Linked DNA regions of Homo sapiens: regions 2, 3, 4 and 5 are each linked to region 1. The links are contacts of gene promoters, found by promoter capture Hi-C in blood cells and fetal thymus (Javierre and others, 2016). All regions are on one chromosome and are shown on one strand. The core of a region is centred on a gene start or on the middle of the fragment in contact, and the rest is flanking DNA. Distances in the headings are between cores, read along the strand shown. Region 1 holds the start of OR52W1 (olfactory receptor family 52 subfamily W member 1). Region 2 overlaps OR56A4 (olfactory receptor family 56 subfamily A member 4). Region 3 has its middle 12 kb from the start of OR56A1. Region 4 has its middle 28 kb from the start of OR56A1. Region 5 holds the start of LOC107984303 (a long non-coding RNA gene).

Region 1 (5,422 bases), core at 152-2,651:
TGATTTCAGACGGGTGCCCAAGCACTTGACTCCAGGGACAGCGCCACCCTCTGCGGCAGTGCCAAGCACTTCCCTCAAGTTTGGGATCTATAGAGGAGCTTTTGTGTGGAAACGTGGGCAGACTTAGGTTGAAATAATGGAGGTGGGGAGCAGGAAAGGGAGTTGTTAGATCTTGTTTATTATGGTCCTTCACTAATTTTTCCTGCATGGTAGTGTAGCCCCCTGACCTCTACCTCCTGCCTCCTCCCAAGCAGAATACATGTTTAAGTCAAAGTCTACAGATGCCAGTGTTGCACATAGGGACTCCACAGCAAGTACCTGTTAAATGATGATAACAGTCATATGCAGTGGGATGAAAATAACATGATCCACACCCCCAGACTCCCCTCCGATTGTCCCCTCACCTCCACTCTTAGGCTCCATTGTTACCACTGGACATTACAACGGGCTTTTTCTGAATGTGAAGGTTTCCAGGAGTCGGTCTCTGATCTGCTTGGTGCGGGCCCCATAGATGAGGGGGTTGAGGGCAGGTGGCAGCAGCAAGTAGATGTTGGAGAGAAGGATGTGCACAGGCTTTGGGACAGTGTGATGACCAAAGCGGTGTGTGAGGTAGGAGAAGAGACCAGGTATGTAGAAGGCCAGAATGACACAGATGTGAGAACTACATGTACCAAAGGCCTTGGCATGGGCCTCCCGGGTAGGTAGCTGCAGCACAGCATGGGCAATGAGTCCATAGGAGCCAGTGATACCCAGAATATCCATACCTGAGATGGCCAGTGAAAGTGCCAGACCATATAAGTTGGTGGCCTGTGTGTTACCCACCACCAGTTCTACCACTGCCATGTGTGCACAATAGGTATGGCCTATGGTCTTGGCTTGGAAGTGCTCAAACTTTGCCACCAGCAGTGGGAAAGGTACAACAATAGCCACAGCTTTCAGTGCCAGGGCCAAGGCTGCATAACCCACACAGGCTTTGGTGACCAGGACAGGGTAGTGCAGTGGACGCCCTATTGCCGCAGCACGATCACAGGCCATGGCCAAAAGCACACCTGATTCCATGGCAGTCAGTGCATGTACAAAGAACATCTGGACCAGGCACACAGCATATGGCACAGATCGGGGCCCAAGCCACAGCACAGCCAGCAACCCTGGGGCTATAGATGTGGCTAAGCCCAGGTCTGTGGCTGCCAGGATGGCCAACAGTAGAAACATGGGCTGGTGCAGTGTGGAGTCTATCCACACCACTGCCGGCAGTGCTCCATTGCCCAGCAGGGCCAGCAGATAAATGGGCCCAAAGACCAGTGTCAGCCAAGTCTGGGCACTTCCTAGCCCTGGAAAGCCAGTCAGTATGAAGAAGTTTGGGTGTAGGAAGGTGGAATTGAGTTGTAGAGTTTCTGCCATTCTGTGGTGGGCACAACTTGAGGGCTCATGGGGGCATGACTCCTGACAGGGAAGATAAGGGGAGAGATTTTGGGGGTCTCACAGTGGCACAAACCCATCCATGGCATACGTGTAGGAGTAGTGCAGGGCTGGGAGGATCACAGGTTTATAACTTTTGGTTAGGGGGGTTTGGATGGATAATTAAGGTCGCAATTCTAGCTAAGATAGGAGAATCCTTTGCTCCTAAAAGTCTATATGTATTGTAGTGGGAGGAAGGGGTAGTGAGGAAGAGGCTGCCTGCTGCAGTGGTTGGTATAGATAGCCTGAGAGAGCCTTCTAATTGGATGTCAGCAGAGGGTGGAGTGGAGATGAATACTTTTCTTCCTCAGGGTCCAAATAGAGTCAGTCTCAGTCTCTATATGAGGAGAAAGCCAGTGCTGGGGGCAGGGTGGGGAATCAGGCTTCCGGCTGTCCTGTCCCTGCCTGTGTATCCTTGGGCAAGATCTCTGGACCTCAGCTTCTTCAGCTGTATAGGCCTGGTGGGTACAGTGATATTAAGGTTTGCCCAGCTCTGAGCAATTGCCCATTCTCAGCACCAACCATCCAGGAAGAGAGGAGGCAGAGTATAAAGAAAGGGAGAAACCGTAGTGGGAGGCAGATGGAATCTGGAGTGAATCTGGGAGCTTGGTGTGGCAAGGGAAAACTTGCTGGGTTTTTGGGGTGCAGGGTGCTTACGTTCTGAACTTGATGCTGAACACCAGCTGGAGAGTTGAAGTTGGGGCTGGGAAGCAACAGAGAGAGAGATGGCAGTACGAAACGGGACTTTTCTTCTCCGTTTCCTTTCCTTCTTCACGGTACAAAAGTGGGTCCCACTAGAGTCTCATTCCTGGCATGCCAGAGCGAGTGGAGGTGACATAGAGGGAGAAAATGGCACTCAACTCAGAGTAGCAGCCATCTGAGGAAGAAGCATCTCTGACATTGGAGGAGGCAGGACAAGTAGATTGACTTAGGTGGGATCCAGCCCACCTAAGAAGCTTAATACATGTTGAATGGATAAATGAATGAGGAAGAAATCACCAGCAGAAGGCTTGACTGGGAAAGATCTCGAGCACTGTGTGTTGGCAGCTTCTCTTCGCTTTAATCAGTGCCTGTGGGGCTCTTTATGTGGCTGTTCTACCTGCTTCCCTCAGGGCCTTTCTCCCTCCCACCTGTGCCACATTAACTCTGTTTTGTATCTCTTTGCTCAGTGCTGATGGGCTGGTGACTCAGGAAGTAGAGTAAGGAGGCAGAGATGGGGGCAAGCCAGGAAAGAGACTATCAGGTGGAAAGATCTGGGCAAGGAACACTTTCTCAGGGAGGTCTTTGCTGGCTCACTGAAGTCCGGGAGAAAATTCCTTGGTTTATTCTTTAATAGCATCTAGCCCACTCTGTTGTAATTTCTTGTCTCTCAATTCCCCACGAGACAAAAAGAGTTGCAGATATTGCTTTTTATTAGCTACAGTGTCTCTACTGCTTACCACAATGTCTGGCATGTAGTTAGCTATGAATAAATATATATTGCTTTTAAGTGTGGGACAGACTGCTAGTCCAAACAGCTTTTGCTGACTAATAGGGGCTCCTACAGTTTCAGGAGCTTTAGATATCCATGAAGAAAAAGAATTATTCACCATCAACCACAAGTCTACTGAATACAGTTCTTTCTATTATAAGGAGACTTAAACTCACCACACTATGTAAAGTCATACAATAAAGACCACAGGGCCTATTGGAAAAATGAAGTTAGGGGCACAACACTCAAAAACTTCATCAGTGACACATTTGAAAAAAAGATGGGCTGGGCACAGTGTCTCACACCTGTAATCCCAGCACTTTGGGAGGCCAAGACAGGAAGATCACTTGAGCCCAGGAGTTGGAGACCAGTCCGTGCAACACAGTGAGAGCCCATCTCTACAAAAAAATTAAAAAAATTAGCCAGCCACAGTGGTGTGCACTGGTACTTCTACCTACTCGAGAGGCCGAGGCAGGAGGATCACTTGATCCCAGGAGTTCAAGGCTACAGTGAGCTATAATCATGCCATGCACTCCAGCCTGGGTGATAGAGTAAGACCCTGTCTCTAAAAAATAAATCCAATAAAATGAAATTGGGCAGAAAGTTGTAATACCAGATGTGAATGGGTGTGGCTCATAACGCAAGTGGTGAACTGAAGTAGCTGATCGATGTTTGAGGTGTGTGCATGTGTGCATGTTGAGCTTTCTTACTCAGCTCAGTTCAGCTGGGTTCAGTTTTCTGGGTTCACCTACTTTCTTGGAAGTGGAGTTACATGCAAGCAAACACGAAATTCACATTATTCTCAGTCCCCTAATACATATGTCAATTGTCTTTGAATAATTTGTATTTTAAAACTAGCATTATAGCAGAACTAGTTGAATCTCTTTTCTGCCTGGCCTTGTGTCATGTGGTGAGAATACAGTGGCAATAACAAGACCCTGCTGCTCTCAAGGAGTTCACAGTCTAATGGACACAGTGATCTAAACAGTTGTCGAAGGGTTGTTAAAGTAATTGCCTTAACTCAAGTCAATACCAGATACGATGGCAGCACAGAGAAAGAAGACTTTCACTCTTGCTGGGGGAGTCAGGGAAATGTCTGAATCATAGTAGTGGTTAAAAGTCTTGTGGGGTTTCCTGTGTACGTGCACTGCTCTAAGCCTTGACCTCACAACAGTCATTTGAGGTGGGCACAATTCTTTCTTCCATTTTACAAAAGAAACTAAGAGACAGACGTTAACTTGGGGAAGGTCATATAGCTAGTAAATAGCAGAGTTAGGATACTAACTCTGTCTGGCTCTAGCATACTTGCTGTTAGCCACTACCTCAAAAATTGTAGCTGAGGTTTAGAACATGAGTTTTTAGAATAGGTGGAGCAAAATGCACCCATTCCTGGGAGAAGGAGTTCAGGAGATTTTGGGATTGGCAGGTGATCCTAGGATTGCTGAATGGAGAGATGTACAAAGAGCTGTAATTATGTGGCAGTAAATGGTGAGCTGTCATCAGTTCAGGGAGGAGAGGAGTACTGAGCAGGTGGGAGCAGTCGGTTAAGAGCCATGAAGGAGAGGGTTAGGAAAAAGTGCTCTTGTCTTCAAGAGAACACTAATGGAACTTTTGACTGCCTTGGACACTTGCTCTTTGTGCAAAGATTGTTTGTAAGGTAAATTACAGAATCCATAAGCCCAAAAAGTCCAAATTTGAAGTCATTGGGTTCTTGGAAATCTACTGTGTTATGCATTTCCCATTCTCCAGTAATCCAAGATACACTGGGAGATATCATAGACTTCGTCTTTAGAAGGTTCCTTGGTTAGTCTCCCAAGCTCCAGTTCATACTTATAGAAGCTATCTAAGCACATCTTGGGAACCAACTGGCTGGTCTTTTCCTGTGACGTTGACCATTAGAGGAGGGGATCTGACACCTGTGATCTGGGGGCTATATACCAGAGCCTGCTCCCCAGAGCAGGGTGTCAGCTCTCTGTGAGGAGTTGGGTGGGGTAGGGAGAGGGGAGGCTTGTTGGATTTCTTAGTTGCTGTTAGACTGACAAGAAAAATAGGATAGGAGGGTTCTGTCTGGAGACTGACTCTGATTTTCTCACATTTTTGGCTAGTGCAGCTACCACCAACATCTATAGAATAGGGTTCTTAGATAACAGCTGGCTCCATGTGGGCCTGTTCTATTGTTTTCCGCTTAAAATGATCCATGAGCAAGAACACATATGAGTAGCTTATTACTTTACATGATAGATTACAGATCAGAAATCTTGGGTCCTCGCGGTGTTGTACAGCACTAAATCCTCTTCTGGAAACCTACTAAAGCAAACTCAATTGTCAAATCCCAATTCCTGGGTCAGTATGAGATCCTTTTGTGACTAATGGTAGCATAGTAGCCCAGGCCTCCTTCACTCAGTTTCAGGAGAGGTAGAGAGACCCTGTAAGATCAGGTTTGCCCTACCCTATGGAGATGTGGAAGGAGTCGTGGAACCACTATGCCCATTC
Region 2 (5,381 bases), core at 1-2,500, 200 kb after region 1:
CTAACATACTTTCGACTTATCTTAAACTTTGTTTTCTCTGCCACTGTAGCCAAAATGAGCTGCTCATTATTTCTTGAAAATTACTTATTCCCATTTTGCTCTCTCTCTTCAATCATTTGATGCTTCTCACATCAGCCTTCTTTTACCATTATCACCATTTGCCAAACCCCATCTTTCCTACCAGGTTTTTTTATTTTTTATTTTTTTATTATGTTTTAAGTTTTAGAGTACATGTGCACAATGTGCAGGTTTGTTACATATGTATACATGTGCCATGTTGGCGTGCTGCACCCATTAACTCGTCATTTAACATTAGGTATATCTCCTAATGCTATCCCTCCCCACTCCCCCTAACCCACAACAGTCCCCGGTGTGTGATGTTCCCCTTCCTGTGTCCATGTGTTCTCATTGTTCAACTCCCACCTATGAGTGAGAAAATGCGGTGTTTGGTTTTTTGTCCTTGCGATAGTTTGCTGAGAATGATGGTTTCCAGCTTCATCCATGTCCCTACCAAGGACATGAACTCATCATTTTTTATGGCTGCATAGTATTCCATGGTGTAGATGTGCCACATTTTCTTAATCCAGTCTACCATTGTTGGACATTTGGCTTGGTTCCAAGTCTTTGCTATTGTGAATGGTGCCGCAATAAACATACATGTGCATGTGTCTTTATAGCAGCATGATTTATAATCCTTTGGGTATGTACCCAGTAATGGGATGGCTGGGTCAAATGGTATTTCTAGTTCTAGATCCCTGAGGAATCTCCACACTGACTTCCACAATGGTTGAACTAGTTTACAGTGCCACCAACAGTGTAAAAGTGTTCCTATTTCTCCACATCCTCTCCAGCACCTGTTGTTTCCTTCCTACCAGGTTGAATTCAAATGCCATCTCCCACAGTAGGTCTTCCTTCCCTGATCCTCCCGACTGGAATCATTATTCTTGCATCTTGTGTGGCTGTATTTCTTTCTCTGACACTGTCATAAGCTTCTTTTAGGTTGAGAGTATTTTATTCATCTTTAAAATTCTGCATGGCTACTTTTACTGTCTCTTATACATACAGATAAATTTAAAATAAAAATGTGTTGAACAAAATCTGTAGAACATTTTATAAGTGATCTCTCATCTCTCATTTTCTTTAATAACTACTTGGAAACAACAATAAAATCTTATACTATTATATGTCCTTATAGTACCTAACAGAGAGCCATATTTTTAGCCAGCACAAAATGAACCTTTATATAGTGAAGACCATTAGGATTGAGACAGTCTGGAGAACTGGAATTTTATTCTCAGATAAAATAATTTGGCTAAATTTGTGTACTCCGCTTTTGTGAACTTTGGTTAAACTCATAAATTCTGGCTTAATTACCTTGAAAATGGTGTTAATTTATTTTTTATTGTTTTTTCAAAGAGTGAATTAATAAAAGTTTTTGTACAGTAAGTATATACACATTAAATTATATACACATTGAATGATTTATCATTATTATTATTTCCCCAAGCTTGCTGCTTCCCCTGCTGCCCTCTGAATAATAGGCTGACCGTTATTGCACACCTTATTTACCTTGGGGCATTAAGGTATCCATGGAATTTGAGTCCTCCTCTTTCCCTCTAGTTATTTTTGTCACTAGTTTATTTTCTTGAGAAGTTCTCTTGCTTATGTGAGGGTTATCATGTAGGAACTCCAAACTATTGGGTGCCCCATAAGACCTTTAGTTGAACATAGCCTATTTATATCCATTTCAGTCTGGGTGCACCACGAGGCTCTCCACAAGCATCCCTTCGGAAACACGTAGGGACAGCCATTGAAGATATGTGGCTATAATACCACTCCAGTGCTCACATTCTTTAAGGCTACCAGGCTTCCAATGCCACTTGCCCCTCCAAATTGTACCAACAATCCCATCTTGTATGTTTGAGAGAGCATGACACAATAATCATAAAATAGGAAACTGTTTTCACCATGTCCAAGCAGCTGTCTTGGTAAATTATCTTCGTAATTCATGACCACACAGTGTGCAGAGGCTTGACTGCTTTGCAATCCCTGCTCAAAGCAGTGTTAAGAATCCTCACTCTCAGTTTACCTATAAAATAGCAAATGAAACAGAGTCCATAAATGCTGTCTTACATATTTTCTCCAGAGTGTCCTATTGGGTTCTTATTTTAGTCCAACTTTTCTTCTTGGGGTAGAATAACTTCTGCAACTTCTCTCAAAATCAGGTGTCACTTGGCACTTCACCTGAGAAAAACTGGTCGGTTATTACTCGCTGCTTCTGAAATATTTTCAATAGAAAAGAGTGATAGTCCCTTCCCTTGGTGTTATCACTTTTGTCTGCCGCTCTCCCTTCTATCATAATTTCCCCTTTTTTTGCTTTATTATCCTTCCTAATTTAGACTCTTTCTAAGTGAGGGCCTCTGATTCAGGCACACAGACAATACATAAATCAGACTCTAGCAGGAGTCTCCCTGGGATCTTTTCTTTTCTCTAGGAAGAGGTGGTAGGGTTGGAAGGGTAACAGGTAGTGTGTAATGAAACCATCTCTATCCTCAGGCATTATTTATGGTCAGTCATAGCTTGGCCAGAGGAGGTGAGCTGATACCCAACCCAAGGTTTCCTTTGGAAGACAGAGAGAGAAGTTCAAAGTGACATAGGTAAAATCTCACCCAGTTATGCACCATTGTCTGCAACACAATTGTCATCCCACCATCTCATTCTTGGAGCCCAGACTTGTGAGGTGAGACAGAGGATTGTGTCTCAGCATCCTCTCCAGTTTCCTCACTCCTATTGCTGGTACCGAGAGGCTTTCCAAGGCATTTTTCCTTCACTGTCACACACATTTGGACAAATCTTATACCTGTCCAGTGAGTGAGTTGGATTTTCATGCTCTTATCATTAATAACAAATATTCCACTTGCCCATTCCAATTTTGAAGCCATTGTGATGTAGGTAATAGGGAAATGATATGTCTGTAATATGTTAGGCTTTATAGCCCATTTTTGTATACTGGCTATAATAAAATGACCCCGGTTTATGGATACTGTGTAATTCTCATTTAAACATAATTTTCCTAAGAGTATACCTAAAGTCTGAAATGAAGCTCTCTCTCTCCTAAGTCTAGAAATATTTGTTTTTCAAGTATATAAGATTTTAATTTTTATTTGTAATGCCTCAAGTCTCCGTGATGTTTCCTCAATTTTCTTCCTGTTAATCACTATCCCAATATTGGATTTTATCTTCTGTGTTTTCTACCCATGCCTCCCTGAAGAATAGGCCTATGCTCTAGGTTCAGATGCCTAAAATAGCCTTAGCCCTGGTGGGCTGTGGGGAGGGAAGTGGCAGAGTGGAGCTTAGGACAGGAAAATAGCTTCTGGAACCTCAGAGGGGGTAGGTCTGATGGTGCATTAAACAGTCACAAATAGCAATTACAGTACAGCATCCTTGAGCTGCTAGGTCTGCTTTGGAACTAGGAAAATAATGAGCATGAGAGTCATGTAGGGACCCAGGTGTTCCATATAAGCAGGAAGCATTCATTCTTCTGGTAGAAATGCAGCAAGTCTGGGGTTGAAGATTCAGATTCTGCCAATATTGCCAATATCCCAAAATCTGCTGTAGCCCTGCTTTCCCATGGGGGCAAAGTTTTTTAATGTGAGCTGTACACTACCCATTTAAACAGAACTGAGATTTCCAGAGTGAAGGTTCTTGAATTCGTTCATTCTTGTCTATGACAGCTGTAGACCAGGAGACTCAGTGAGTTTATGTTATCAACTATAATTCACCCCTCCTAGAGAAGATTGCCATGGAAGCATCAGAAAAGATAGGGCCATTAATCTCAGCTACCTTGATTTCTCCCTCCTGGGCTTCCCATCTCATCCTGCCTTGCTCTCAGTGCTCTTTCCTGCTTCTCTGTCTGGGACAGAAAACCTTTTCCATTGCTCAAGCGACTATACTCCTCAGAAAATTTCAGACTGGGCATGGGGTTAATTTTTATCTTTTGTTCATTGCCCCAGCAAAAAGAATATAATAACCAACTGGAAACAAAGCCAATGTCTCTAGAGAAATAGACTTATTTCTTTGGAATCTGGCCACAAATAAGTTTGTATAGTCTGACTATTTGGATGTATATCTGAAGCTGTAGTTGTTTCTAATTCCAATTCTACCTTTCGTCATCCTTTGTTAACAACATCTAGTTGTAGTTTCCAAATACATCTTATGTGAAAGAACGGTGCTCTTATTACCACATTTGGAGGAATCTAGAAATTTTGGAGTTCTTTACTGAATAGCCACATTGGTTCTAAAAAAAAAAAAAAACTTCACTGGTTTAAGGTAGGAGTAGAGGAAGAGTAATATCTACCCTAAGACAAAGAGGCTGGGCTACAGGTTACTGGAAAGTCCTAATGCCTGGTAGAGATTCTGTGAGGAGCTAAGCTGGGAACTTTGGATGTGTTGATTATCTCTGTTCTTAATGAGGTCTTCCCATTATGAAATCTGAAAGACCAGTCTACTAAGAAATCTCTGAAGGATTTTTGTTGCTATACTATTCAGCCACAAAATATTTGGTACATGTAATATATACACACACATATATATACACACATACATATATGTGTATATATTACATGTACCAAATTTTCTTTCCCCATTCATCTGTTGATAACATTAGGTTGACTCCATATGTTGCTATTGCAAATAGTGCCGCAATAAACATGGGAGTATAGACATCCCTTTGACATACTGATTTAATAGGGAAACAAAATCCTGTCATGTGCTATAGTATGGATGAGCCTGGAGGACACTATATTAAGTGAAATATTAAGACAAAAAGACAAATACCACATGATCTCACTCAAATGAAGAATATGAAAAAGTTTTCTATAAAGTCTTTGAGAGTAGAATGGTGGTTACCAGAGTCTGGTAGGTGGGAGGGAGGGATTGAGAGATGTTGGTCAAAAGATAAATAATTACAGTTAGATTAGAGGAGGCTGTTCAAGAGATCTATTGCACAGCGTGGTGACTATAGTTAATGATGACATATTGTATTCTTGAAAAATGAAAAGATAGTGAACGTTTGGTGGTGTTCTCACCACAAAAATGATAGTTATGTGAGGTAGTGTATATGCTAATTAGCTAGATTTAACTATTCCACATTGTATATATACTTTAAAACATGTTGTACACAATAAACACATGAAATTTAATCTGTCAATTAAAAACATACTAAAAGAAATCTTTAAAGGAACCTTGATGGGTAGTATTGAAAAAGACAATGAAAACTGTAATTTTGAGCTGACCCAGAAATCGAACCAAACTAAACAAGTTCCTGTATCCTGTCCAACTCAAGAGTCATGGTGCCATGTGACCATCACCAAGATTAAATT
Region 3 (5,833 bases), core at 2,581-5,080, 160 kb after region 1:
CTTCATCCCTTTAGTCCTCCTGCATTAAACCCTATCATATGTGGATTTCAAACTAAAGAGTTAAAGAAGGAATTTTAGAAGTTGCTGCAGAGGGGCCTTTGAAAACACGGAAGGGACTCTCCATAGAAGCACCTATTACTGTTTCTATTTCAGAAGCTGTGATTCCAGAAAATAAACTAATGCTTAAATACTGAGTATTTCCTACCCATTTCTCTCTCTCCAGTATCAGGAATTAGTGAGGGCTCCTTAGTACCTGACATAAATTCATTTGCCTAGCTCATGTAACTAACATTCTTAGAGATTTAACTTTGTGTTTAGATATTTACATATTTGAACAATCTCATCCTCACAAAAATTCTGCAGGGTAGGATTATTATTCCACTTTATATATTAGAAAACACAAGTTTAGGGAGAAATACTGACAAAGGTCACATCTGATGAGTGGTGGGGCATCAATTCCTCAGACACCATTGAAGCCCTGGTTCTGCTCTGTAGGCCAGGATCTCTCCATCATTTTTATGAATTTGTTGCTGTCAATAGATCTTCTCTAATCACCCTCCACCTTCAGAGTCAAAAAGAACCAAACAGAGGAACAGAACCCAGAGATGTTGCCAATCTTTTTCTGACTGCCCAGGCTTCTGTCACCAAAAGATATTAATCATAGTACTAGTTTATGCCCAGTGGAAGGCTCACAAACCTTGAAATTCTTTATGACAAGACCAGGACACTGAGGATCCAGCTGGCAGAGGTAGGAATGAGAAGACCAGCAGTGTGGGAAGTGGTCAAACTGACTGTGGTGATTTGGGGGCATTCTGTGTACTCAAAACCACACCCCATATGCTTTGGAGCTCAAGAACCAGGAGTGTGGGGAATGTATGTATGGCATATTGTTAAATTTCTGGATGTCATAATCTGGTGAAAATGGGTGAAGAAACAACATATTATTGTAGATGGTAGGCAACGCTGTCATTATTTACATGGGTTATAGAAAACTGAGGTTCAGGCTCATTTAAGAACCTTACCCAAAGGTAAGAGATAATTCTTATTTGCAAAATTCCATAGGCTGAAAGCAAGGGCCACTGTATTAAGAGGTCCTTAAACACCAGTTCTGGTGAGTAGATCCCAAAAGTATTAACTTAAAAGCATTTGAAACATAGGCCAGGCATGGTGGATCATGCCTGTAATCCCAGCACTTTGGGAGGCCGAGGTAGGAGTTCGAGACAAGACTGGCCAACATGGTGAAACCCTGTCTCTACCAAGAATACAAAAATCAGCTGGGTGTGGTGGTGTGCACCTGTAGTCTCAACTACTCAGGAAGCTGAGGCAGGAGAATCACTTGAACCCAGGAGGTGGATGTTGCAATGAGCTGAGATCCCACCACTGCACTCCAGCCTGGGTGACAGAGCAAGACTCCATCTCAAAAAAAGAAAGAAAGAAAGAAAAAATAATGAAAGAAATGTAGAGGGTACTAAATCCTTGTTTTCATCAAATATAATTTTTTTTGTCCTATCAAATATCTTTTGAATTGCAAATTGCAAATATGGAATAAATAGATATATGCTATCTGGCATTAGAGTATAACAATATCTTGGTGAATGGTGGAAAGCAGGGGAGTTGCTTGATTCCTTTAATTGTGAAAGGAATGGAAAAGTGGTTATAAAGTATTTTAAAGCAATTTATTTAAAAGATGAGCAGAGCTTGGTTATCAATTGGATGTGTGGAGTAGATGAGAGGAAGAGAAAGGTGATTACATTTTCAAGTTTGTATGCTGACACTTCTGTGGGTTTTGTCAGCTTCACTCTTTGGTTATTCAAGAAATATTGATATAAGCTTCCCTTTTTTATGGGCTAAGACAGAGATTGGGCTCTCCAGAACCAAACGAAGTCAGAGATAATTCTTATTTGCAAAATTCCATAGGGTGAAAGTAAGGGCCACTATAATTTAATCTCTTGTTTCCATCAAATATGATCTTCTTTGTTCTGTGAAATATCTTTTGAATGTAAAATTGCAAATATTAGATGAACTAAAGCTTTAGCTGGGAAGAGATCTCTGCTAACTGTGGAGATGGATGAGGCTTATGCAGCCAGAAATCCAACCATGAGCCCAGTGAGAAGACAGTTGCCCTTGCTGGCCCTTGCTTTCACTCTATGGAATTTTGACTTGGAGGTTGTGCTTGCTTAGCTTCCTGAGAAAAGGTTTATAGTTACATGGTCTTCCCTAAGACAGTCTCGTTAATTCTGGTCACACATCTGATTGCACACACAAGAAAGAAAGTTTGGGTAGACGTTTTACTTAAAAACATTCAAATGCCATTCTTAATCCTGAAGGTCCTGCATTAGTTGCATTTCACTTGATTTCCCATTTCTGGATGCTGCTGCCCTTTTCCTATGCTAAAATTTATTTTTATCAAATGTTTTAGATACATTTTGGAGTCCCCAAATCATTCTGACCTCAGGTTCCTACAGACGTATATTTTCTTTCACTGTGATGCATAGTCCTTCTAAGATATGAAAGCTTCAGCTGTGAAATAGAACTCTATTTTATTTTATTTTTTTAGACAGAGTTTCGCTCTTGTTGCCCAGGCTGGAATGCAATGGCTGGATCTCAGCCCACCACAACCTCTGCCTCCCAGGTTCAAGAGATTCTCCTGACTCAGCATCCTGAGTAGCTAAGATTACAGGCATACGCCACCATGCCCGGCTAATTTTTGTATTTTTAGTAGAGACGGGGTCTCACCATGTTGACCAGGCTGGTCTAGAACTCCCAACCTCAGGTGGTCCACCCACCTCGGCCTTCTGAAGTGCTGGGATTACAGGCATGAGCCACCGTGCCTGGCCTGATCTCTCTTGACTGTGGAGAAGGATGAGGCTCATGCAGCCGCAAATCCAACCATGAACCCAGTGAGGAGATAAGAGTTAAATTGTGCTTTGATATGCTGGTATAGCATGATTTTATATACTCAAGAGGGACTTTAGCTGGTCAATATGAAGTAACAGGAGCTAGATTACCCTGTCACTTGAAATAACTAAAAGACTGAACAAAATATGTGAAATAATGTTTCTGAAGGCACTGGACATCAGGCAATGGAGGACAGTGATCCCCAAGAGATAGGAAACAAAAAAGGTGAGTCTTGTTTACTGGAAAGTGATTGTTTCAATTCGTTAGGGAGAGATTCCATGCTACGTCAAAGAGAGGGCAAACTCAGCTGCAGCCTGGCAATCTTTCTGTGTCGAGGAGAAGGGGAAGGGAGTCCAAAGAAGCTAGAGTTCACAAGGCAGAGTATTGAGGAAGAGAAAACTCCATAGAAAGAGAATCCTAAAGATTTATAGAAATTCCCCCTTGAGTGTTCAGCAATGTACTGATTAGCATATGCATGTGAGGGAACTTCATGAAGGGCTAAATATCTGAAATAAATTAGATATCTTCTATCAAGGAAGAAATGGAGAGGGGATGATAGTGAGACGGAAATGGGTGTTGAAAAGACAACTAACAGAGTCAAACATATAAGAAAACAACAAAATTCTGCATAATGTTCTGAATAACTTTTATGCCAATGAATTTGAAAAACTAAAAATTTAAAAATCACCAGTAGCTTCAGATAATAAAACTCAAATATATAAATAACCATTAAAAATTTGAAATATTAATTAAAGACCTTTTCCCAACAAAAGCTTCAGTACACTATGGGTTTATAGGTGAGTTCTAAAATTTTAAGAAATAGATCATCTCTATCATGCATGCATTCTTCAAGATAATAGAAAAAGATGGAAAATTTTTACCAACTTATTTTATGAAGCTAGAGTAACCTTGTCTCTAAAACTGGATAATGACAATTCAAACTGTGCAGTGTTTTCACCATGCATTTCATTGCAAGGCAACCCAAAGCCAATCAGTCCATTGTGTAATCAGCCCATTCCCCTGAGAGTCTCACCTCTCAGTAGGAGGTGGGTATGTTTCCATATCTTCCAGGTGGCCAAGGGCAAGCTTCTCTGATCCAGGCATGTAAAGAGCCAAGTATCTCTCCATAACTGCCATTAGCCATCCCTTAAAGTATATTTCCTACCTAGTTATTACACACCAAGGCTAAAAGCTCTCCCATAACACAAAGTAATTTTTGATACCCCCAAAAGTCAAAACTGTCAGGTAATACAATGCAAAACAGAACAGTGTCTTAGATTTTGAGAGGGATCTATTCTCTTTCCATTCTTGGGCTTCTGTGACGAAAACAGAGGTTTTTCCTAGGTTTTTCTGTGGTGCCTCCTCTGCTTTTCCCCAGGAGTCCCAGGCTGTTAGAATTTATCTTAGGTTCTCTCATGTGGGCATCAAGAGTGGGAAGAAGACAAAATGGAGAAAAACAATTCAGTCTACTGAAAAGAAAAAAACTTTCAGAAGAACATGATTCCAGAAGAGGAAAAAGATAAAGCTCTCTTAAATACATTTAACTTGGATATCTGTTTTTAATTAAGCTGATTTTAGCCATAGAGCTATTTTTTTCTAAAAAGAAATTCTTTTAAATCTTTTATTACCAGACTCTAGCTAGAACAGCCAATATTTCTGGCTTTTGAATTCTGCCATAGGTAATTTCCCACATGAAATTAATTAATAAGTTTTAACTAAGGTTAACTTAACTATGGATGCATAAGATATCTCAAAGAGACGGTAAGTAGTTTCTATTTTTACAAGATTTAGAATCTCCCCAAGGGTAGTTCAGGGAAAGGAAAATTCAAGACAGGAAATCAGAGGCTATCCATGGGCGAAAAAACCCTCAATAAATGGCAAAGTTACACAAATAACAAACCAGGAAGGAATGCTTCCGGAAGCCAAGAATTGAACCCTTGCCACAATTGTCAAAAGATAAAGCGTCAGCTACTGAGCTACACAGCATTGAGCAGTTTCTATTGCTCTTTCCAGAAGCCTAGAGCAGCCAATTTCAAGCATGAAAAGGCTTTTAACTGCTCAAGATAATTTTTAGGGCTAACTATAATGTGAACCCCCAAGTTTCTGTCCTCTAGATGGTGGAGACCAAGAGAAAATATCCCCACACAGTCCCAGGGTTAAGCTCTTAAGGACACAAAACAAGACGAAATTTCATTTGGTATTGGTTTCAGGGACACGCAACAAAGTTTGTAGCTGATTAGCCTGCTGGCCTGGCTTGAAAGCAGGGTTATACGGATCTCAAACCCACATTCTATCCTGTGATACCCCTGTCTCCATTACAGAAAGAAAAATTCTTAGCACAACGTGCATCAGATTTGCTACAGCCTAAGACTAGTCTCACAAATCCTTTTTTCTATCAATCAAACTCTTGCAGAGAAGACAAATAGTGACGTTTACCATTTATACACACACACACACACACAGAGTCAGAGAGAGAGAATAGAGAGAGAGAGTCAGAGAGAGATAGAGAGAGAGACACACACACACACACACAGAGGGAGAGAGAGAGAGAGAGAATGAGACGAGAAACTTGGCTGGTAAGAATTTCTTACCCTTTTTGCCAGCATACCAGGTTTCCAGGTTCCCTTTCTCTGTAGCTTCCAGAAGAATGGAGCAGCTTTTGATGACCCTGCTATCTGTGCCATAGCTGTGAGGGTCAAGCCACTTTACAAAAGAAAATTCTGTTTGATGAAGCCATGGAGAAAATATTCTCAATTTTGCAAGATGTTGCCCAATGGGCTACGTGGGGAAATGAATTAACATTTTCAATTCCAGCAAAATACACATAACAAAACAGATACTAGCCACCTCATTCAGCACCCAATATCAGCCTGGCAAAGCTCAAACTTTCTCCTTTTGGTCCCTGTTGTCTTTGATCCACTCCAAGTGAGAAGGG
Region 4 (5,388 bases), core at 1,434-3,933, 140 kb after region 1:
CTCTTTTTCTGCCTAGGTTCTTGTCTCCTTTCCTCCCGACTATCATAGAGTCCAGATCACTGCTGAGAAAGAGATTAAAGAGAGAGAGAGACAAGTCACATCCCATAGAGGCCTCCCTGCCTGCTAGGAGCAGAAGTGACTACCAGTGACCACAGGAATCCCCTTATTTCTGACACATCTAGGATTTCTTTATCACTTCTTTGCATGCGAGATAGTGATGAATCAGCAGGGATCTTTCTGCCATGAAGCACCCAGAGCATCACTTAAGGTGAGGACTGTCAACACTCAATCAGTAATCCCCTCAGACGGCAACCCAGTGTCTGCTACTTTATTCCTTTACTTAAATTCAGTCTCTGCCTTATCAAATTTTCATAATCTTCAGCCTTTTAAGACACTCATACACTTATTTATTTATTATTTAATCTAATCATATGGATATTTATTCAACCAACATTACTGATTACCGACTGGATTCTAGGTGCTTCTGGAGCTTGCCCTGGGGCTGCTGCAATAAGCAAGGCATAGTCCCTGCTTTTTAAAGTGCAAGGTCATCAATGCAATGACAAAGTGGTAAAGACATCACAAAGGGAAAGAAAAGGAGACACATTATGCTGTCTTACAGAATTCAAGCACAACTTCACAGAAGATAGGTTGCTTAGATTGAATGTAGATGAATAAGTAGTAGTTCAACAGCATCAGCTCTTCGCTAATTGTCCCCTGCTTTCTGGTTGGAGAACTAAATAGAGCTTCACTTTTAGGTTCTTGGGAATAAAGTCCCTTCTGCTTTTCTTCTAAGAATCACAGAGGGATCTCCTATTTACTTTAATAATTAGTGCTTAATAAGCAGATGTAGGCTTTTGCTCTAGTCTCACAAGCCATGCAGCATAAAAAAGAAGCAGATTATATTCAGGTTCGTGTCTCTGCCCCTCTGCTTCACCTTCTGTAGTACGGTTTCAGTCTCACTGCTTTATGCACACTGTTTCTATTAAAGCCACGGGTGCCTTCCACAAACACATACCTGTTCTTCAACTTCTCAGCTATAAAATGAGAAATGAGCTGATGGTTGTAACAGAAGGGGAGTAGCTAAGAAAGAGAATTAACTTCCTCAGTATGTGGAATATTAAGCACTGAAAGGTGATTTTTTTTTTTTTTTTTGCAAGAGTATAAGATTCCCCTGGAAGTCTCAATAAAAATGTCATCATTATTTTAAGTTGACTCTTGAAGAAAGACAAAGGCTGGGAGACATATGCCCACCTAGAATTTCAGAACTTATAGTTGTTATATTGAGAGTTTGGGGGCAATATGATAGTTCCCAAACATTATTGATTTGTAAAAAAGACACACTGAGTGATCTATAGATGCATAATCCACAAGAACTGAGTCATTCTTGACTTTTAAAAATCTTCACATGTACATGTACACGAACCACCACCCCAACAAAGAAAAATATAGTTGTTTCAGACTACATCTGTCTTTTAAGATAAACATACAGACACAAATGTAACCAGTTGCAAGTTTCTTATTTTAATACTTGAGGGGTGAATCCCATGGAGAAGGTTAAACAGACAGCTGTTTATTCAATAGTTCATGTTAACGTGGGGTGTCAGAGACACTGAATTGCTATAACATCATGATGACAGGTAAACATATCAAAAGTTTGAATCAGAGAAGCAGAGTCATGAAGACAAAGAAGAAAGGAAAGGTAATTATAGTTATCTTTTTAAACATTAATAATATTGCTATTAATATTTGCCATTACTTTCAACGGCAAAAATCACAATTACTTTTGTACCAACTTAATAAAAGATGACTAAGAGCTCATAGCCATCTTTTATTAGTAACATTAAAAAAGAACTATAATTTATAGACTATACTTTATAAGGTAACCTATATATCAAGACTTTACATACATTAGTTAAAATTTTTAGTATTTAAGATTAATATTATTTATTCTAATATGAAATAAGGAAATTAAGACTTAGAGAGTTTTAGAAGCCTAGCAAGATTTTATTCCTAGAATATGAAATGGACAGAATTTTAACAAACTTTGCCCGCAAAGCTTGTATTTATCACACTGCATTGTGAAGCATCCATGCTAGCTTATAATCATGACATGTAATGAGATACAGTTCTTTAAAACAAGCCATTAAGATGCTGACAGGATTTCTATGATGGAGATAAGCAAGAAAGTTATGGATGAACAAAGAAGGATCATAACATACAGTGCTCGTGACATAATCACTCTTGACCTAACACAGCCAATGAGTCCTTTTGAGCAGCAGAAGAGAGTAGACTCTAAATTTTCAAGAGTGAGGAAGACCAATTCAGATAAAGGAAGTGGAAGAAAGACTACACAAAAGGCATATGTAAAATAGGAGAGTTTAGTCATATAACTCCAAGAATGTTGGAATGGTTTAGTAAAACATACATGTAGAAATATGTTAACTGTAAGACCAAAGTAATACACAATAGATAACCCTTGAAAACCTTTAATGCAGTCTTAAGAGTATGATTTTATTCCATGCAATAGATTCACTGAAGGATTTTAGCCATAGGCACGACATAACGACATCTGCATTTTAGGAAAAACCTGACTTTAAGGTTGAGAGTGAATTGGGAAGATGTTTACAGCAAAGGCAGAGAGATGTAATGAAACAGTACAGGTGAGAGAAGTTGGATGTTTGACATCGGGGGTTGAAAACAGGAGTGGATATAACAGCTATGTGTTAAAAATGCAGTTAACAGGAATTGGCGAATGGGGAAAAGGGATGAGAGATAAGAATAAGTAAAGATAGTTTCCGAGTTTCTAGATTGGGTTTGGTAGATGGATAGTAATGTAATTCATAAAAATATTGCCAAAGGTAGGTAGGACAGATTTAAGAAGGATAGATGAATTAATTTAGTTTTGAATATGTTGAGGCTATAGTATAGCTATTCAGGAAGCAAATGGAAAGAATGATTTGTGTTTCAGAAAGATATTTGACTTAGAAACACAGATTTGAAAGAAATAAAAGTAGATAGATAAAACTATGAAAGTGGATGAGGTCAATTCAGAGATAATGTACTGAATAGGGAAAAGAGGAGAGGATGGATCCCTGGAATCAACAACATAATGAGATGGAGAAAATGGTGGGACTGAGGCTATAGGAGAAACAACTCTAGAGTGCCACTTCACGGAAACTGAGGGAGGCTAATTTCAAAAACAACAGTTTAATTTACTGTGTTCAGTAACGCCAAGAGGCTAATAAAGAGAACCCTTTGAAGTTGGCAGCTTCAAAACATAAGCAACTGAATGGTTAAAGCTTATGCATCTCTCCCAAAACAGTGTATGTTTACTCTTATCTCTAAAAAAACTAGACCTATTCTAATTCAGACATGTGGATGTCTCACCTGTAAAAAAATTTATCTCCACCAAAGATTTTCTTTCTTGTATCTAACTTTATTCCCTTTGGTTGCAGTTTTAGTCACTTTATTCTTCTCATGAAGATGGTAGACAATGTGATCTGGACTATGTGATAATGTACCAGAAATGCAGAAATCATGAATTTGGATTCTTTTTTCTCTTTCCTCCTCAAGTCATTGATAATGGCGCTTAGCAATTCCAGCTGGAGGCTACCCCAGCCTTCTTTTTTCCTGGTAGGAATTCCGGGTTTAGAGGAAAGCCAGCACTGGATCGCACTGCCCCTGGGCATCCTTTACCTCCTTGCTCTAGTGGGCAATGTTACCATTCTCTTCATCATCTGGATGGACCCATCCTTGCACCAACCTATGTACCTCTTCCTGTCCATGCTAGCTGCCATCGACCTGGTTGTGGCCTCCTCCACTGCACCCAAAGCCCTTGCAGTGCTCCTGGTTCGTGCCCAAGAGATTGGTTACACTGTCTGCCTGATCCAGATGTTCTTCACCCATGCATTCTCCTCCATGGAGTCAGGGGTACTTGTGGCCATGGCTCTGGATCGCTATGTAGCCATTTGTCACCCCTTGCACCATTCCACGATCCTGCATCCAGGGGTCATAGGGCACATCGGAATGGTGGTGCTGGTGCGGGGATTACTACTCCTCATCCCCTTCCTCATTCTGTTGCGAAAACTTATCTTCTGCCAAGCCACCATCATAGGCCATGCCTATTGTGAACATATGGCTGTTGTGAAACTTGCCTGCTCAGAAACCACAGTCAATCGAGCTTATGGGCTGACTGTGGCCTTGCTTGTGGTTGGGCTGGATGTCCTGGCCATTGGTGTTTCCTATGCCCACATTCTCCAGGCAGTGCTGAAGGTACCAGGAAATGAGGCCCGACTTAAGGCGTTTAGCACATGTGGCTCTCATGTTTGTGTCATCCTGGTCTTCTATATCCCGGGAATGTTCTCCTTCCTCACTCACCGCTTTGGTCATCATGTACCCCATCACGTCCATGTTCTTCTGGCCATACTGTATCGCCTTGTGCCACCTGCACTCAATCCTCTTGTCTATGGGGTGAAGACCCAGAAGATCCACCAGTGAGTGCTCAGGGTGTTTACACTAAAGGATTGACCTGAATATATTCTCACTGTTTCCTTCAGAGGCACCTGCCAGGACATAGCCAGGAACTCATGGCTGGTGCAGATTATATGGATGGGGTAATTTTCACAGCGAGCAGTCCTTCTAGTGTCACATATCACAGCAAAGAATATCCAGAGGCACCTGGCTTCACAGCTTATTGGGATGTATCTGGATACCTGAATTTGTGAATAGTTTTTCCATTCTTTCTTTTGCTCCTGATTCCAACATTTTCCTACTCCTGTGTCAGAGAGACTTGAGGACAGTAGAAATGGATGACAGCTCTGGATGTGTCATCTTTCCTGCCATTGCCCAGTGATAGACTATGCAACATTCTCTGGAATGGCAATGGGAAGTCCCACCCTCAGCTTGGTTTTAGGTTTAGAGTGTCTTCCAAACCTCTAAGTTTGTGCTGGCAGCACATTTACATGGTACAGCCATTCAGCTAAATGCTAGTGTTAACCCTTTAGATGAACCTTTTCGTGTCTTTTAGGATGACTTAGATTCCTTTACTTTTCTGCCACATCAAAATGCATAAATTAGGACATTTCTAAAATATTTATTATGCATATTATAAATGACTTTTTTCTTGCATTTACTCTTTTCTTTAAGGGATGAGTTTCTCCGCTTGTTCAGCCTGGTCCTTTCTTCACGATACTAGTTTTTTCTCAATTATTTGTAGATTTTTACTCTTATTTGTTTGTAGATGAGAATTAAATGGTTGGGTCCTCGCTGTGAGTTTTCTCAGAGCCTGTAAAGGTCACTGCTCTTGTGCCCCAATTGTAGGACTTTGTAGGTCATTGTACACGGATTTGCTAACAGACAGAATTCTCCTCAGGCTGTCAAGAGGAA
Region 5 (5,572 bases), core at 110-2,609, 180 kb after region 1:
TGAAAAATCATGTCTATCTTTAATCTCTAGTTCCCCAGTAGTAGAGTCCTAAACGTAACAAATGGATAAACCACATACTTGAAAAGTTGGCTCTCTGCTCTGGTTCTAAGTATAGAGGTTTAGAGGACCACAGATTTCTCACAAAATTGTCAAGCTCACTGCAAGTGGTAAAATAACTGGTCTCAAGGGTCCTAGATAGGCTTTGAAGTAAATCCTCATACAGATGATAAAGGAGCAAGATAACCAAAGAATCAGACCATGAAGGGCAGACCCAACTCTGCTGTGAAGTTCCCATAGCAAAATGTTAAAACATGTCCTCTCTGTAAAGGTTTTCAAGCACTGTCTTGAGTGGATATAATGAAGTAGTATAAATTAAAGGCATTTTAAATGGATGGGGTACCAATGTTTTGTCAGTTTTTCAAAACTGAGGAAGTCTATGAAGATTTGCTTTGCTGATACAACCTGAATATGTTCCAACTGCATTGGAAGAGGGTGCATTCAGAACATGAGAAGAGAGACAGGAGTAGCTTTCCAAAGGTCACTCCCCTCACTCCCTGGTTTGCAGGTTAGTCATATTTGTGTGAGGAACACAGCCTCTTGAGCAGGAAGATCTGATATCATTGCACATTGCTATTCAATACCATAGCTGACTTAAATCAAGGCCAGTGGAAAGAAAGAATAGCAAGTCCTCTGGAATTAAGGTGGAAAAAGAAGGGACCCTATGTTGGTAGCCAAAGCTCAAAACAAACACCTAAGTATTGTTGAGGGAACAATACTACACTTTCCATTTATCACAGAAAGCTTTTTAGTGCCTAGCCATCCTGATACTTTATTATGCTTTGGTGTATATTCTAGGCAGTGAGAGTTCTGAGACATCAGAGAAAGTTTATAGCATCAAGACTGCAACTGTAGAACTTAAACAGCAACGTCTGAAGTTAAGCAAACTCTTCATAGTTGGCAAGTCAACATTGCCCCTTTGTGGCTATTTGTGGGAATAACGGTACTGTATTGAATGCCAGTTCTCAGTCTCAGGTGTTTGAAAGAGAACGTGACAAGTCCGTTTAGAAAACTCCTGTACTTCCTGCTCATAGGGCACATAGGGACTTGAGTGATTAATTTAACAAATAAAAGAGACATACCAATTTATACCATGATTTTCTTTTCTTCAGCAACATTTAAAAGTCAATACCAAATCACTGACATGAGTCAGGTATTCATAAGAATAGTGAATATCCTTAGTGTTTCATAACATATTACACTATCAGCATTTGGCTGAGTACTGTATATAATAACAACATTTCTGCACCTATTCAACCAAAAATTAGTTATTGAGTTCTTTACGTGTGATTAGCACTCTGAACATACAGGAAAACTAAGTTTTAGAGAGATTATGGTCAAAATAGCCCATGAATTATAATTCCCATTTTTGCAGATGAGGCAACTGAGCAAAATGATAAATTATACATAGTCATTTAATCAATAGGGACCAGAGTTAAAATTGAGAAGTAAGGCATTTTGCTACATAAACCCATTTTTGCTTCTTCAGAGTCTAGGGATTGAGGTATATTTTTAATCTTTCACTGGATAGCTTTGTAGTTTCCTAAGTTTTTCATACTCCAGATTATAGATATCAAAGGCAGAGTACACTAAAAACCCACACGCATTGAATTAGTCAATGCAATTAAAGTTAGCTACTGTAACAATGATAGCACAGTGGCCTAACACAATAAAATTTACTTCTCACCCACACCTCATTCCAATGCATGAGGGCTTTGCTCCACATCAACATTTAGGGACCCATGCTTTTTTTATTATGTGGATCCTCCATGTTCTGGGCTCTTAGAGACCTTCACTGGTGCTTCTGAATCTGGGTGGCAAGCCAGAAAGAGAAAGAATATGCAGGATTTTGTAAGCTTTAGGGCCCCAAACTAGGAGACACATCACTTTCTCTATCATTTCATCGGCCAGACTCCTCACATAGATCCAGCTGCTTGCAAAAGAGCCTTGATCATAAATTTTCATTTCTCTTTTTCCTACATAGACAATAGGCTTACCTCCTTATCAAGGGAGACCACCCAAGCTCTCATCTGATTACTCTATGCAGCAAAAAATCCAAGACCTACAGATGTGTGTGGCCTTCTCCATCAGATCCCATTGTGATTTCTCTTTCACCAGTGATATTCTGTCTCTCTATTAATGGCGGAGCAGATGATTTCCAACTGGAAATGAAGTGTAGAATTCAGTTAGCAGTAACTTAATAGTAATGCGAGAATGCTTTAGGAGCAGATATTGCAATATTTTTACTTACTGAGAGGGGGACAAGTTTCTTGACTAGACATTGTTTGCGTTCTCTAGGAGGAACTCTCCTGATCATTGTTTTCAATGTCCTGATCATTGCTTTTTATTGTTTTTTTAATGCCATCTGCCTTTGGGGGTTTGTGCCTTTATTAATGTTCCCATTATCCTAAATGTGCCTTTATTAATGTTCCCATTATCCTAAATGAAGCAGGCATCGAACAATGTGACTTCTTTTGGAGTGACACTGCATTTGAACCTACTTTCTACTTATAAAATATTAGTATCAGTACTTTAAATAATTTTTTATTTAATTATTCATTTTAAAATTGATACATAATAATTATACATATTTATGAAGTTACATACAACGTGTAGTGAGCAGATCAGGGTAATTAGCATATCCATCATCTCAAACATTTATCATTACTTTGTGTTGGGTATATTCAATATTCTTTCTTCTAGCTATTTGAAAATATACAATATATTGTTGACTATTATCATCCTTTAGTTCTGTAAAACACTAGTACTTGTTTCTCCTTTCTAATTGTAATTTGTGTAGGATCAATACATTTTTTAAATTCTAAAGCAAAAACTTTCTTCAAAAGTCAAGTTCATGTTTCTTTGGCAATAAACCCCCTCGAAGGCCTAATAGGTTTTTGATCTATCTGTATCAGGTCAGTTCAATGTGCTAGTGATCACACTCAAAGGATTTTCTTAGGCATAATTTCCATTACTTTTCTTTTCTATATTGTCTTCTCCCTTTCTCCATGCCACTCTTTTTCTACTTAATGATGTTTATTTTAAGGCTGTCAGACTTGAGAAGGACTGCTATACACATCATCTAACTTTTTCTCAGGCTGGATTTCTGTGAGTCTTCTTTACTCAAAGAAATTCTAAAATTTTCTCTTAACTTTTGACCTCCAAAATGGGCAAAAGATGGAAGCATTCCCCTATAAAACTGGCACAAGGCAAAGATGCCTTCTCTCACCACTTCTGTTCAACATAGTATTAGAAGTCCTAGCCAGAGCAATCAGGCAAGAGAAAGAAATAAAGGCCATCCAAATAAGAAGACATGAAGTCAAACTGTCTCTGTTTGCAGATGACATGATTCTATATATAGAAAACCCCACAGTCTAGGCCCAAAACCTCCTCCAGCTGATAAACGTTAGTAAAGTTGCAGGATACAAAATTAATGTACAAAAATCACTAGCATTCCTACATAACAACAACAGCCAAACTGAGATTCAAATTAGAAAGGCAATCCCATTCACAGCTGCCACACAAAAAATAAAATACCAAGGAATACAGCTACTCAGGGAGGTGAAAGATCTCTACAGTGAGAATTACCAAACACTGCTCAAAGAAATCAGAGGAGATACAAACTAATGGACAGACATCCCGTGCTCATGGATAGGAAGAATCAGTACCATTAAAATCACTACACTGCCCAAAAGCAATTTACAGATTCAATGCTATTCCAGTCAAACTACCAATGACATTCTTTACAGAACTAGAAAAAACTATTTTAAAATTCATATGAAACCAAAAAAGAGCCTGAATAGCCAAAGAAATTCAGTTCCTAGTTTAGGACTGTTCAAACATATACTTGAAATCTGCCTTGACATTCTGCTATGATTATGTTAAGATCCTGGTATTTGATTGGAAACAATGTATTTTCTGCTTAGCTTTTGAGTTTATGCAGAATTCTTGTGGTCTGTCAAGAGATGCCGTTGTTAGTATGTGGTGGGGGAGGAGAGATACCTGAGTCAATACTCTTGGAAAAAATAAACCTTGATACATTTTCTGAAAAAGTCACTAGAGCTCTTACATTTACCAGGATGCTTATAATAGAATTAAGACTGTGTCCTATTTAAGAAAGAGGTTGAGAGACTTTCCTTAAACCTATGCTTATCCCTGGAAAAGTAAATGCTGGTTTGCCTGTGGATAGAGCCAAGAGAGGGATCAAGGTCTCATTTTTACTTGAATTCACAGAGTGACTGACGAATTGAATACTGTGCCTAAATGCTTTTGAGAAAAAGCCTTCTGACATTCACTTTTGGCTTAATGAGAACTTGAATTTTAAGTTTAGAAGTCAGGTTTAGTATCTTAGTTATGCTGTTGCCTGACATATTGTCTTTTTAAATTGGAAAGACAATTGGGAGGCAATTTAATTATGGGGGTGGGTCTTTCCTGCACCCATAATTCTCATGATAGTGAATGAATCTCATAAGATCTGATGGTTTAAAAAAACTAGAGTTTCCCTGCACAAGCTCCTCTCTTTTCCTCCCACCACCCATGCAAGATGTAAGTTGCTCCTTCTTGTCTTCTGCCATGATTGTGAGGCTTCCCCAGCCATGTGGAACTGTAAGTCCAATTAAACCTATTTCTTTTGTAAATTGCCCAGTTTCAGATAAGTCTTTATCAGCAGCATGAGAAAACGGACTAATACATGATGTATCACATTTATTGATTTGCATGCGTTGAACCATTTTTGCATTCCTGGGATAAATCCCACTTGGTTATGATGTATTATCTTTTTGATGGGTTGGTGGATTTGATTTGCTAGTATTTTGCAGAGGATTTTTATATCTATGTTCATCAAGAATATTGGCTTGTAGTTTTTTTTTTCTGTCGTGTTGTTGTTTTTGGTGTCAAGGTAGTAGTAGCCTTGAGGAATGAGTTAGGAATAATTCCCTCCTCTTTAATTTTTTGGAGTAGTTTTAGAAGAATTGGTGTTATTTCTTCTTTACAAATTTGGTAGTATAAGGCAGTAAAACTTTGTGTCCCTGTGCTTTTTTTTGTTGGCAGGCTTTTTATTACTGATTCAATCTCATTACTCACTAGTGGTATTTTCAGGTTTTCTATTTCTTCCTTGTTCAATCTCATTAGGTTGTATATGTCCAGGAATTTGTCCATTTCCTCTAGGTTTTCTAGTTTGTTAGTATATAGTTCCCAATAGTCACTGATAATATTTTGTATTTCTATGGTATCAGTTGTAATATCTTCTTTTTTGTTTCTGATTTTATTTGCATCTTCTCTCTTTTTCTTTTGATTAGTCTAGCTAGAGGTTTATCAATTTTGTTTATCTTTTCCAAAAATCAAATTTTCACTTTATTTTTTGTCTTTTTGAGGCTTTTTAAAGTTCTATTCTGATTTTTATTGTTTTCTTTTACAAATTTTGGATTTTGCATGTTTTTGCTACTCTAATTTCTTGAGGTGCATTATTAGGTTGTTTACATGAAATCTTTCTACTTTTTTGATATAGGCATTTACT

Evidence for each region. The method cuts DNA at HindIII sites, captures the fragments that hold promoters and counts their contacts. A CHiCAGO score of 5 or more calls a contact.
Region 2: a contact is called between a fragment that was not itself captured here and the fragment with the promoter of OR52W1 in region 1, in 1 of 17 cell types (M2 macrophages). The highest score is 5.1, in M2 macrophages.
Region 3: a contact is called between a fragment that was not itself captured here and the fragment with the promoter of OR52W1 in region 1, in 3 of 17 cell types (M0 macrophages, M2 macrophages and M1 macrophages). The highest score is 5.7, in M0 macrophages.
Region 4: a contact is called between a fragment that was not itself captured here and the fragment with the promoter of OR52W1 in region 1, in 1 of 17 cell types (monocytes). The highest score is 5.8, in monocytes.
Region 5: a fragment that was not itself captured here is called in contact with the fragment with the promoter of OR52W1 in region 1 in 4 of 17 cell types (M1 macrophages, M2 macrophages, M0 macrophages and 1 more); the score reaches 12.0 in M1 macrophages.

The regions. Positions count from the first base shown.
Region 1 is chr11:6,195,203-6,200,624 of GRCh38, reverse strand. It overlaps OR52W1 (olfactory receptor family 52 subfamily W member 1), which reads right to left and starts at 1,401. Exons shown (of 1, transcript NM_001005178.1): 1 at 439-1,401. The coding sequence starts at 1,401. The coding sequence ends at 439. RefSeq lists enhancers at 586-1,086, 1,087-1,587. The HindIII fragment of the contact is 17,873 bases long and covers 1-2,416 here.
Region 2 is chr11:5,995,440-6,000,820 of GRCh38, reverse strand. It overlaps OR56A4 (olfactory receptor family 56 subfamily A member 4), which reads left to right. Exons shown (of 3, transcript NM_001005179.4): 3 at 1-1,376. It also overlaps a transcript of OR56A3 not described here. Among named protein-coding and RNA genes, the nearest start is that of OR56A4, 8.8 kb to the left of the region's middle. The HindIII fragment of the contact is 518 bases long and covers 992-1,509 here.
Region 3 is chr11:6,040,076-6,045,908 of GRCh38, reverse strand. It overlaps the pseudogene OR56A7P. Among named protein-coding and RNA genes, the nearest start is that of OR56A1, 12 kb to the right of the region's middle. The HindIII fragment of the contact is 313 bases long and covers 3,674-3,986 here.
Region 4 is chr11:6,056,428-6,061,815 of GRCh38, reverse strand. It overlaps the pseudogene OR52L2P. Among named protein-coding and RNA genes, the nearest start is that of OR56A1, 28 kb to the right of the region's middle. The HindIII fragment of the contact is 1,243 bases long and covers 2,062-3,304 here.
Region 5 is chr11:6,018,571-6,024,142 of GRCh38, reverse strand. It overlaps OR56A1 (olfactory receptor family 56 subfamily A member 1), which reads left to right. Exons shown (of 2, transcript NM_001388488.1): 2 at 1-4,807. It overlaps LOC107984303 (a long non-coding RNA gene), which reads right to left and starts at 2,143. Exons shown (of 4, transcript XR_001748102.2): 1 at 2,055-2,143. It also overlaps a transcript of OR56A3 not described here. The HindIII fragment of the contact is 1,112 bases long and covers 804-1,915 here.